Regions from separate parts of the Homo sapiens genome. Here region 1 is linked to region 2. The links are contacts of gene promoters, found by promoter capture Hi-C in human tissues and cell types (Jung and others, 2019). All regions are on one chromosome and are shown on one strand. The core of a region is centred on a gene start or on the middle of the fragment in contact, and the rest is flanking DNA. Distances in the headings are between cores, read along the strand shown.

Region 1 (6,024 bases), core at 1,734-4,233, 40 kb after region 2:
TGTGGCCTTGGGCAAGCCAGGCCCCTCTCCAAGCCTCAGTCTCCTCATCTGTAGAATGGGCATCATTCGCACCCGACTCTCCTGTGTCAGGCGCTGGGCACTCCATGCTTGTGAGCTGGGGTTTACTGTTTACACTCCTCACATCTCTCTGGTCCTCATCACAAGCAGTCCTCAGAGCCTGGAGGGACCGGAGTGTCATCTCCATTTGACAGATGAGGCCAGTGAGGCCCTGCCGCAGTGTGACTTACCAGAGCCATGCAGCCTGTTGGGGCAGAATTCGGACTCATCTAAGTCTGAATGTTCCAGCTTCCCAGGCCCCCTCCCCAGGGCCCGTGGGCTCCTTGGGGCAGGCCAGGTTCCTCACCCCACCAGCTTGGTTCCCACCCCCCTGGTCTTGGGGAGAGCTCCACTAACTCTATGCTTTTCTTACAGAGCAGAGACGACTGGCCGCCCTGAGCGCAATTCAATTCAACAGACATTTACTGAGTGCCTACTATGCGCCAGGCCTTAGGCTGGGCACTGGGGGAGGGGCGCAGACAGGAAGATGGGGTCCTGTCCTCAGGTAGCTCCAGGCAGGGGAGGGGGCATGGAGAAGACAGGCAAGGGCTAAACAGCTCAGCACCAGGAGAGAAGCTGCTTGGTGGGCTGGATGCAGCAGAGACCCGGGTTCAAGTGCATCACTGGAGAGCTGCTGTTCCTCGTCCGCACCTCAGTTTCCCCTACTTGTAAAATGGGGGAGATGATCTCTAGGACCCATCCAGGATTCCAAGGGCTATACCTCGGGGTTGTGGGGGCATAGCAGGGGGGTCACCCTGCAGAAGGGAGATCTCCAAAGGCTTCTCAGAGGAGGAGGCATAAGGTCTCGGCCCAGGGGATGGGGACAGGTGGGAATGGGTCCCAGGGTTAGTACCAGCTAATCGCTGGTGAGTAACGGCCTGGTGGATATGGGTGTGGGCGTGCCCTCAATTCCATAGGGTTGCGAGGGGACATGGTGGGGTGTGAGCTTAGAGAGGGAGAGAGGGGTTCTAGGGCCACAGGTTGGGTTGTGAGCTCTATTCTGGGGCCAGTGGGAGCCATTGTGGGCTGTTGAGGGAGAGTCAGGAACAGCTGGTCCTGCTCTGTCTCACCCTCTTCTCTCTCCCTCTCTGGGGCACACTTCAGGATCACATTCCCATAGAACCTTGCAGCCATGTGGCCTTGGCAGCACCTGCACTGTGCCAGGCACTGTGTACATTAGTCCTCATTGTGGCCCCAATTGACAGAGGAGGACGCCAAGCTCTGAGAGGAAGCTCTTGCCCAAGGTCATAATCTGACTCCCAAGCCCCGCATGCTTCTCCCACTACCTCCCCCTGAAAGAGTTCCTATTCTCTGTGACCTCTCCCATCCTGGGGACGCCCCCCACGAAGCCCCGGGGAGTGCCTGCCAAGGGCAATGCAGTTGGATTTGGAGGGTGAGGTCAGGAAAATCCCAGATGTTAGCAGGACTGGCTTTCTCCAAGACCTGAGTTTCTGCCCTATCAGCCACCCTCTGGGATAGAGAGTGAGGCGGGGCTCCTTCCCACTTTACAGATGAGAAGACTGAGGCCCTGAGAGTCATGTGGCTAGTCCAAGGTCAAACTCAAGGGAGTGACAGCCTAGGCTAGAAGCTGGTCTCTTTATTGCCCAACTGAGGCTGGAGGGAGGCTGAAGTCCCCTGAGATCTGTGCAAAAGCTGACCCCTCCCCGACTTCCCCAGGGAGCAGAAGAGCCCAGAAGAGCACTGGAGTCACAGACCTGGTTCAAATCCTGGTTTTGTCTTTTGCATGAACTGTGTGATCTGAGCAAGTCATGAATTACTTGGAGCCTCGATTTCCTTATCTATATGAGGGCGGCGAGCTGGCCTCCTTCACTCAGCCATGAACAAATATTTATTGAGCACCTACTAGGAGAAGCAGGACCCTTCCTCGGGGAACTCAGTCCAGAGGTAGCAGCAGCAGTTATGATTCCGGTTGTGATGGAGGAAGCACAGGGGGCTGTGGGAACCCACAGGAGAGACCCCGGCCAGGTTGGAAGAAGGCAGGCAGGTAGGAGGGCAGAACAGGCAGCGGCTCCCACAAGACCATGTGGGCTGGGCTCTGGATGCTGTTGGAATTTTCCCAGATCAGCCCGAGCCAACGAAGACTTTTCAGCAGGGAGTGCCATGCTCAGGTTGATGTTCTAGAAAGTTCATCTTCTGCTGGGTGGAGGGGGCATGGAGTGGGGAGGTAGGGTTGGAGGTAGAGAGACCAGCAGGAGCAGTAGGGGGAGGCGGCGGCACCAAGGCGGGACTAGGGGCAGGTGGGGAGGTGTGGGTGCCTCTCACTGTGTCTGGGAACTGGGAGAGAAGCAGGGGAGGAGGGGGAAGGGGCCGTGGGAGATGAGTCCAGCCGTGGAGGTGGACATGGACGAGTGAGTTTCAGGTGCCAGGGAAGGGCCCCGGAGGCAGCTGGGTACGGTGGTTTGGGTGTGGTCAGCCCAGAGCTGACATTAGAAGCCTTGGGAAGGGTTGAAGGGCTCTTGGGGTAGGGGAGGGGGAAGCGGGTTTGAGAGAGGCAGTGAGCAGGGACCAGGACATCAGGGGAGGCCACTGCTTGGCTTACAAGCAGAGGAGCCCGAGGGGCCGCGGCCTGGGAGGTCGCGGGAAAGCAAAGCTGCAGGTCCCCAGCCCAGGAAGAAGGTGGCAGGACTTAGGTCTGTGGGGAGATTTCAGAAGGCGACATGTCAGGCGCTGTGCCTGGCACCAGCGCGGACGAGGTGCCCAGGAGGGTCAGCTCCTGCATCTTTTCACCTGAAGGCAGAAGCTTAGTCTGTCCCTTACCCTCCTGAGGAGGACGAGGAGGCTACAGAGGGGGAAGGTGTCAGGGAAGGAGGAAAAGGGGAAAAACATTTGCATGCATGACAAGGCTGAAGTGAGGGAGAGAGAAGGGGGGAGAAAGAGGAAAATAAATTACCATACACCAGGATCTTGTTATTCAAGCTAATTTTCAAAGGACCACAGCTGTCACGCTGAGATAATTCGTTAATTATAACAGCCATTGTGCTTTGGCGCTGGGAGAGAAACCGAGGCCGGGGAACAGGCTGAAGGTGGGGGTGGGAGCAGGCTATTGGGGGGCCTGGACATCAGAGAGGGGACAGGGACAGAGGCAAAGAGGGGTGTGTTGCCCTCGGGACTGAAAGGAAGACAGGCCAGGCCCCATCCTTCCTCACTGTCATGGTTGCGGTGGGTAATGAGGTCCTCCTGCCTGCCTGGCGTGTGCCACGGTGCCACGCGCCAGACCCTCACAGCGATACCTGCAGGAGGCAGCTTCCTGGAGCTGTGACCCTGCCCAGACCCTGGCCTGTGGCCATCCCCCTCCACGGCCCTCTGAGCTGGTGCCCTTCTTGTCCCACTTTACAGAAGAGGAAACCGAGACCCAGGACAGATTAGCTTGCCAGGACCACGGGGTGAGGTGGCATAGCCTGGATTCGAGCTGAATGTGGACCCTGCGCTTTGGCAGCACGTTAGGGAGGGCCGGTCTTGGTGGACTGGCCACGCGGAGTTGGTGGCCACAGCAGCTGTCACATAGATAGCCTCACGTTTGGGCTGTGGTTTCTGCCCAGCCGGCGGCCCTCCCCGGGGAGTTTCCGGGGCTCGATGTCGACCCCTCTGCACCGACAGAGCCTCCTTGTTCTCTGCTGCTGCAGCTGCAGGCCCCCCGTAGCCTCAGAGGCGGCCGTCAGTGTGGGCTGGACCCTCCCACCTCCTCTGGAGAAAGCTGGTCTCAGGGCCAGGGGGAGGGAATTTGGGCCACCCCAGCTGGTGTCCATACTGACCCCTTGCGATCGCCTGGTTAGAGGTTCTGAAGCGACAGAAGCTGAATGGGCTGTGGCCTCAGGAGGGGTTTCTCAGCCTGGGCCTAGAGGGCTCCAGGACCCTGGGTGCTGGGCCATGCTAGGGACAGGGGGCTGGGGGCGTAGCAGGCAGGTGTCCCAGTCCTAGGTGAGCAGAGTGAGGGAGTCCATGGGGAGAGGGGTGGGACCAAGGAGCCATTCCAGAAACCCCAGGGCCCCTTGGTGAGCTGTGGTGTGGCTTCAGGAACTCAGGTCTCCTGGTGTCCACAGTGGCCATGCTTGGAAACAGCACCTAGGCTAGGCCAGCTGGCAGTGTTCTGTGGGGTGGGAATAATGTTTGGGAGAGGGTAACCCTCAAACCCCAGTAGGAGTCCCAAACTTGACCCAGGCAGGAGAGAAGTGGGCCCCACAAGGTGACAGGTGGGCCTGGGGTGGCTGTGTGGGAACTCCCTTGGTTGGGGACCTCTCCCCAGTGGGGCCGCATGGAGCCAAGGGGAAGCTGTCAGAGGGTCAGGACAGCTTAAAGTCCTGTAGAATTGGTGACCCACAGAGGCCAAGACACAGGAGACTTTTAGGACCAAATAAATGGTAGATACATCCTAGAATCCTTGAGCCCCAGACTCATAACTGGAGACCTCCCTCCCTAAATGACCGATCCATGCTGTTAGTATCCTGGTACTAAAACCCAGGAGCCATGGGTCAGGAGGATAGGGGAGGGGGGCTCGAGGTCAGGCAGGGGTCAAGTACAGGAGGCAGGGATCGGGGCACCCTTGGGTCCCAGGCTGAGAGGCTCATAGGAATACCCCTGACAGGCTGGGTTTCTACGTGTCCCCACTCTGGGGTTCCCCCCTTGTTGCTGGCCTCATAAACTCCAGTGTGCAGGGGTCAGCTGGCCACCTAAACCAGAGAGGCAGGGAGGAGGTTGGATGCTGCCCCGGCCTGTGCCACTGCTGTGCCTCCGGGGACGCAGACCCAGGGAAGCCAGATCTTCCCTGTATCTCAGTGGATTCCAGAAATGAGGATTTTTGAAATAAAATCTGCCAAGTTTTCAATATTGGCAACTGATTAAAAAAATGTGAAAACCACCATCCAGATGAAACAGGATCCCACAGCAGCTCTTGAACGGAGCCTGGGGCCGTGGAGGCTGGAAGCCACTGTGTAGCAGTTGTGAGGCCTCAGTTTCCTCATCTGCAAAGTGGGAATAGTGATAGTGCTTTTAAGATGTTTAAAGTTGGCTCAGGATTAAATGAGTTAATATGGGAAGTGCGGAGGCCCAGCCAGTGCAAGCACTGAAGACTTTTCATCTTGTCGGAGGCCGCCCATCCCTCCCCGGGCTACCTCTCAGGGGGCTTCGCTGTCCGACACTGGAGCCTCCATTTCCCCCTTGCGGTCCCCACATGCACTGCCCCTGTCTTGGGACAGCCCTGAGGGTACTGGAGGGCAGGGAAGCGTTCGCCCCTTGGGACCCTGGGGGAGGAGCAGGTGGAGGAGGCAGAGCCAGGAGGGCGGGCCTAGCCGGCGCCTGGTACATAGTAGGTGCTCCATAAATGTTTATTGAATGAATGAATGGAGGCCATGCAGGCAGAGGCAGCCGTGCTGCGCAGGCACTGGTGAAAGAGCGGGTCCAGTGGACACTGGTGAGTAGTGCCCAGGGGCTGCAGCTGAGGGGGCCAGCAGGGGCCGGGGGGAGGCGAAGGTCAGGTCGGGAGAGGGCAGGGGTCAGGAGTGGGAATTGGGGTCAGGTGGGGAGAGGGCAGGGGTTGGGAGTGGGAAGCGGGGTCAGGTGGGGAGAGGGCAGGGGTTGGGAGTGGGAAGCGGGGTCAGGTGGGGAGAGGCCAGGGGTCGGGTGGGGAGAAGGTAGGGGTCAGGTGGGGGAGGCAGGGTCAGGTGGGGGAGGCAAGGGCAAGTGGGGAGTGGCTAGAGGTCGTGGGGGGTGGGGAGGTGGGGTCAAATGGGATGAGGCCAGGGGTCAGGTTGGGAAGGTGGGATCAGGTGTGGGAGGCACAGTCCATGGGGGAGGTGGGATCCAGGGGAGGAGAGGTAAAGGCCAGGTTGGGGAGAGAAGGGGTGAGGGAGGCAGTCTCCTGAGTAGCTTGGAGGATTCTGGGAAAGCCAGGAGGTGGGTTTTTAATACAGGTCATCCTTGGCTGTGGGACAATCCTATCCCCAGGTGCCT
Region 2 (5,551 bases), core at 1,492-3,991:
AGAGAACATATTTGCCTCTGTGCATGGGCTCTGGGGAGCTACTGGAGGGTTTAAACAGATGGGTGGTGAGGGAGTTTGTTGCAGGTATCCAGGTGACGGCAAGCCTGGTCTGGGGCAGTGACTGTGGGAATGGACATGTTATTGCTTACGTTTGTCTCGGTCTTAACCATTCAGCTACGGATTCTAGGCAGTCTCCTGAGCTCCCCGCTCCCCGCATTCCCAGGTCCTCAGGGTTCCCTGTGTGTGTGTCTGTGTGTTTGTGTGTGTGCATTAGGTCTGCCTGGGCTTGATTTTAATAAGGAGCTTGCTATATGTCTGGAGCTGCACTATCTCACATGGCAGCCACAAGCCACATTATGGCTATTTAAATTTAAAGTAATAACAATTAAAATTAAAAATTTAGTTCCTCAGCCACATTAGCCACAATTCCAATCACTCAATAGCCACATGCAGTTAGTGGCTACTGTCTTTGACAGTGCAGACATGTATCCTTTCCACTATGGTCTAGAGAAAGCCCAGTCGAGTGTCTAGATGGTGTGGTCCACTATGACCCTCAGGCCAGGCCAACTCTATCTTCTATATGGTGGCAGAAAGTCAGCTAAGAGCTGAAACTCTTGTCAATGTACATCTGCCCAGTAAGGGCAAAGTCTCCAAAGGGAGATTCTTAGACCGTTTTAGAGCTTCAAACAAATTCTGACCAAATCCAGCCAGACCTGGAGGTCTCCAGGGAGAAGGGAGTGGCCGGCACTGTGCTGGGGGTACTGGCTGCTTTTGCTATATTTCTTTCACAAAGGAGGAAACAGGCTCAGAGAGGGTTGTGACTTGCACTCTGGAAGATGACTGGGAATGTCTCGGAAACAGAGCAGCAAGAGGCTGTTTTGCCACTGACTCCCTGGTATTCTTTGGGGTCATCACTGCTCAGTTTCTTGGGCAGGAGCGGATTAGGTGGCATCTGCCAGTGCCCATCTCAGAAAGTGTCTGGGCCTGAGAGCCACAGGGGGGCTGTTGGCTTGGGGAGCACTCTAATTTCTCGAGGGATCCGCCAGAGGGCGCAGAGGCCGTTATGTTCCGCCTGAGGGGCTCTTCCAGCAAGGTCTTGGAGCTGGGACCCTGCTTCTTGCCCAGCCTTGTCAGGGATACACACCATGTGTTGGATACCGCCCCTGCCCTGTAGGAGGGCTCAGTTTAGAGGGCAGAGACAGCACATGGCTTGTTTGGGTTTGCAGCGAGGGACCTTGAAGGATGGGTAGGAGTGTGCCAGGCAGCCTGGGGTGCAGGTGGGGAACGCCCAATAGTCCTTCTGCATACCCCAGGACAACAAGTGGCCTGTGACCCAGTGCTTGTCTGCCCTCCCAGCCCCATCCTGGGCCGTTCCCTGTTCTTAGTTGAAAGGAGGGAGGAATTTCTGGACAGACGTTCTTTCTGCTCTACTAATACCCAACTCCGTGGAGTTCCCTGTACACACATACAAAGCTGTTTCATGCCTCTGTGCCTCTTTGCACATGCTGTTCCCAGAGTCCAGGACACCCTTCTCCTCCTTCTTTAGCTGGCCAACTCCTACTCATCCATCAAGATTCAGCTCAGGCAGTGGCTTCTTCTGGGGAGTCTCCTTATTCCAGACCTGCATGAGATGTCCCGACGGGGAGTTCCCGCAGCCTGGACTTCATCTGCTGTGCAACACCTGAGAACAGGCGCTGGTGCATGCGGTCCTATAAAAGTGATGGAGAAGTACAGGGCCTGCTGGCAGCAGGCCTCCGACATGCAGCTCGCAGGGCCTCGGGAGGAGGTGCTTGCATGCCCAAGCACCAAGTTATAGGCCCCGGGTGCCAGGCTTCTTGCATCTTCCACCTCCTCCTCCTCCTCCCAGCATCCACCCCTTTGCAGGTGGCAGCAGGTGGCAGGGGCTTTGGCGTAAGGGGCGGGGAACTGGGCCTCTGGAAGGCTAATGAAGGTTCTCTAGCTACAGATGAGCCCAGTATCCCTTGGACCTACTCCTGGAGGGGTGGGGAAAGGCAGTGAGTGCCCTGGCACAAGGTAGGGGAGCGTAAAGTCTAATACTGTCTGTAGGCTCCCTGTGTAACCTTGGGGGAATCACTCCTCTCCGAACCTCAGTTGTCTGGCCTGTAAAATGGGAACGCAGCAGCCGCACTTCCCCAGTCGCCAGCGGTTGAACGCGGGACCAACCAGCAGGGCGCAGGCGGCAGGGCATGGAGGTACAAGGCGGAGAGGGGGCCCATCAGCGGAGGCGGAGTCCAGGGGGAGGGCGAGTCCAGGCGCACTTCGGGCGGCCCCGCCGCAAGTTTGCCCCCAGCTGTTGAATGCGCTGGCGGAGGCCGGACCCGGACCCGGACCCGGATCCCGCGGGGTGAGCAGCGCAGGGGGCCGCGGCCGGGACAGGGGTCCGCCAGGCCGGGGCTCGGGTCCGTGGGGCCGCCTTCGCCTCCCCGGGCGCTGCAGCTGCAGCGGCGGCGCCAGGCGCGGCCCCAGCCCCGCGGGCGTGTGTCTGCGAGCGCGCGTGTGTCCGTGGAGCGTGCGGCCGGCTCGGGGGCGGGAGCGGGCTTGCTGCGGAAAGGCCTGCGGAGGGCACCGGGAGCGGGCGGGCTGGCGGACGGACAGACGGGGACGGACAGACGGACACAGCCTGCCGCGGTCCCTGACGCGCGCCGCTTGGCCCCTCCCGGGCGCCCTCCCCGCCGAGGCAGGGGCAGAGGCGCGGCGGCGGGGAGGAGGGGGCGGCGGCGTCTGCGCGCACACGCGCGCTCCCAGACACACACACAGACACACGCGGGCCACCCCACGGCCACGCACCCCGCACCCACACCCGCGCTCACACTCACATTCACACTCACACTCACACGCGCAGGCCCCGCGGCCGCCGCTTCCCGGAGGCGGTGCTTGGCCCGGATCCCGGCTGGGGCTGGGGTAAGTGAATTCCTCTGGATCCGAGCGCCGCGACCGACCGACCGGGGAGACGGTGGGAGTCGGGGCTGGAGCCGGAGGGCACCCCCTCCGTCAGTGGGGGTGGGGCTTGGAGAGGGACACGGAAGGGGGGATGAGACGGGGAGAGCCACCCCCAGTGTCTCCTGGGTCTGGGGATCCCCGTGAGACCCCCGGGGGACCACCCTGCGCGAGGGAGGTGGTGGTGGTGGCGGTGGGCGGAGGCGGTGGGAGGACACCGAGGACGGTCGGTGAGGTGAGCGTTTCTGGGGGTGGTGCAGAGGCTCGATGGTGGACGGTGTGCCAGCCGGTGCCACACTGCACCTCTCTGCCCTCATCTTTTCGAATCGGGGGCCCTAACCCCTCTCTTTCACGGGGTGCTGCCGGGTCAAGGCATTCATCCTCTAGCTGGTAAGAGGGGTTGACGGGGTGGATGCCTTCTAGGGGAAGGGGGGCCAGGGTGGGGCTTGACGGCGGTGGGGTTGGTAAGACCAGAATTGGGGGGTGGGGACCCTTTCAGAGGCGCTGGCCAGGGACAAGGAGGGAGGCAGCCCAGGGAGGCGGCATAAATCGCAGACACTGCAGCTCTGGCAGGGCCGGGGCCACTGCCGGGTGTGTGTGTGTGTGTGTGTTTGTGTGTGTGTGCGAGCGCGTGCCAGTGTGTGTGTGTGCGTGCGTGTGTGGGCTCCAGCAGCTGTCAGGGGACGGGGAGGGGGTGGGTGTGTTGGCTGGTGGGGCGCCGTGTGCATGTGGAGAGGATTGTGCGTGCTGTGTGTGTGTGGTGTGTGCGTGTGTGTGTGGACATGGGGTGGACCCTGCTCTCTGTCTGTATACACACAAGCGCACACACGCACACTGTCAGTGGCCTGGCAGGATTTCCTCGGAATGTTTGGAGGGAAGGGAGCTGATGTGTGTGTGTGTGTGTGCGCGCGCGCGCGTGTGCATGCACACTCGGGGAGCTTGTGTCCAAAACAGAGGCCACAGGCCATGGTGTGTCAGGCGTGCCCAAGGAGGGAGACGAGAAGGGGACAGTGGTGCTGACCGTGCACTCAGCTGGGGAGGAACGTGGTACTCGGCACTTTCTGCAGCTCAGGGCTCTGTGCTGTGCCCCTTCCCCCTGGACTCCTCCCACCCAGCAGCTGCGGCTGGAGGGCACTGCCTTGGTCCCTTGCTGAGACGCAGGTGTTGGGCTGGAGTGTGTGTGTGTGTCTGGGCTGCGGCTGTCGCTATCAGCAGGCCAGGCTGTCGGAGTCAGAAAGCTGGAGGGAGTGGGGTGCTGGCAGCACCTGGAGGAATGTGGTGGAAGCTGTGGGGCGCGGACTGCCCGGCGCGGTTACCGAGAGGCGTTTTAATATGCAAGTTGCATCATGAGATGGGACTGGGAGTGTGTGTGTGTGTGTGTGTGTGTGTGTATGTGTATGTGCATGGCTGACACCCCTGTTCTCGTGGCCCGTGGACACCTGTGGGACGTGTCACGTCTGGGCCATCAGCAAAGCATGTGGGCATGTGTGTCCCCTGAGAGGGGTGCACAGGCAGGTGCTGTCCTGATGAGCCGGGGGCCCTGCAACTGTGTGGGTGGGGAGGTGGGTACCTCTGGGCCATCAACGCCTAGGCAGGAAGAAAGAGTGTTAATTGTGGGGACATCAGGAAAAAGTATGTATGTGAGGTCAGTGAGAACCTCAGGTGTGACATAAGCTCCAGGCCGCAGGTGACGTCACTGGGACAGTTTTGTCGGAGGTTGCTCCCCCCAGCCAGAGTGTGTAAATGTGATGTCACGGGAGTGTGTGTGGCCGAGTGTGGTTATGTCTCTTGTATATGAGGGGTGGGAAGGGGAGAGGGATGGAGCCTTAGGACGCGTGGCGTGGTCCCTCCCAAGAGGCCGCCTTTCCCAGCATCCTGAGTGGGCATGGGACCCCTTTCCTTAAGTCCTGCCCCCTGAAGAGTGCACCTTCCAGGACTGGAACCCCCGAAGGAGGTTCTCACATCAGCACCATTGGCTGCTGAACTCCTTTGCCAGGTGGGCCTGGAGGCCTCCAATGTGCTGCAGCCCCCTATCTGACCTCCCCAGTCCCTGTTTTCCTCTTCATCCCAGCCAGGCCCACCACCCCTGGGTGGATGTGCTTTAATGAGTGAGTGTGTCAGTGCATGTGACAATAGAAAATGGCCATAGCCAGGGAGCGTGAGGCCATTGGTTCGAATCCCATTTTGCTGCTTTCTGTGTTTTGTGATTTAAGCATTCGCGTCGCCTCTCTGAGCCTCAGTCTCTCCTCTGTAACATGGGGTGAGGGGTTAGAGAGGTGAAGGGGGTTAAGGAGACCATGGGCCTTGTGGGGGGCGGGTGCTGATGCCTGGCATATGGTGGGGGCTCAGTCCACGTGAGCTCTGTCCTCTCACCTCCTATCCCCCTAGCCCAGAGTAGCTGCTTTCCTGTTTTGGTTTAAGTCTAACTTTGCAAAGGACTTTCTTTTCTTTCCTTGGATTTCCACGGCAGTTCTTTGAGGTGGGTGAGTTAGCCACTATTATGTGGATATTTGACAGATGAGTAAACTGAGTTCTGGAATAAGCTGTCTGTTGATTTAATGTGAATTCCATCCCCCCCCCCGCCGCCCTCAGT

Evidence for each region. The method cuts DNA at HindIII sites, captures the fragments that hold promoters and counts their contacts. A contact is called where the count stands out against the background at its distance.
Region 1: a contact is called between a fragment that was not itself captured here and the fragment with the promoter of ELFN2 in region 2, in 1 of the 25 tissues and cell types used here (IMR-90 fibroblasts).

The regions. Positions count from the first base shown.
Region 1 is chr22:37,384,311-37,390,334 of GRCh38, reverse strand. The region is part of intron 2 of ELFN2 (extracellular leucine rich repeat and fibronectin type III domain containing 2); the gene reads left to right. Among named protein-coding and RNA genes, the nearest start is that of ELFN2, 40 kb to the left of the region's middle. RefSeq lists an enhancer at 3,759-4,297. The HindIII fragment of the contact is 7,073 bases long and covers 1-6,024 here.
Region 2 is chr22:37,424,669-37,430,219 of GRCh38, reverse strand. ELFN2 (extracellular leucine rich repeat and fibronectin type III domain containing 2) reads left to right here and starts at 2,741. Exons shown (of 3, transcript NM_052906.5): 1 at 2,741-2,922. The HindIII fragment of the contact is 24,898 bases long and covers 1-5,551 here.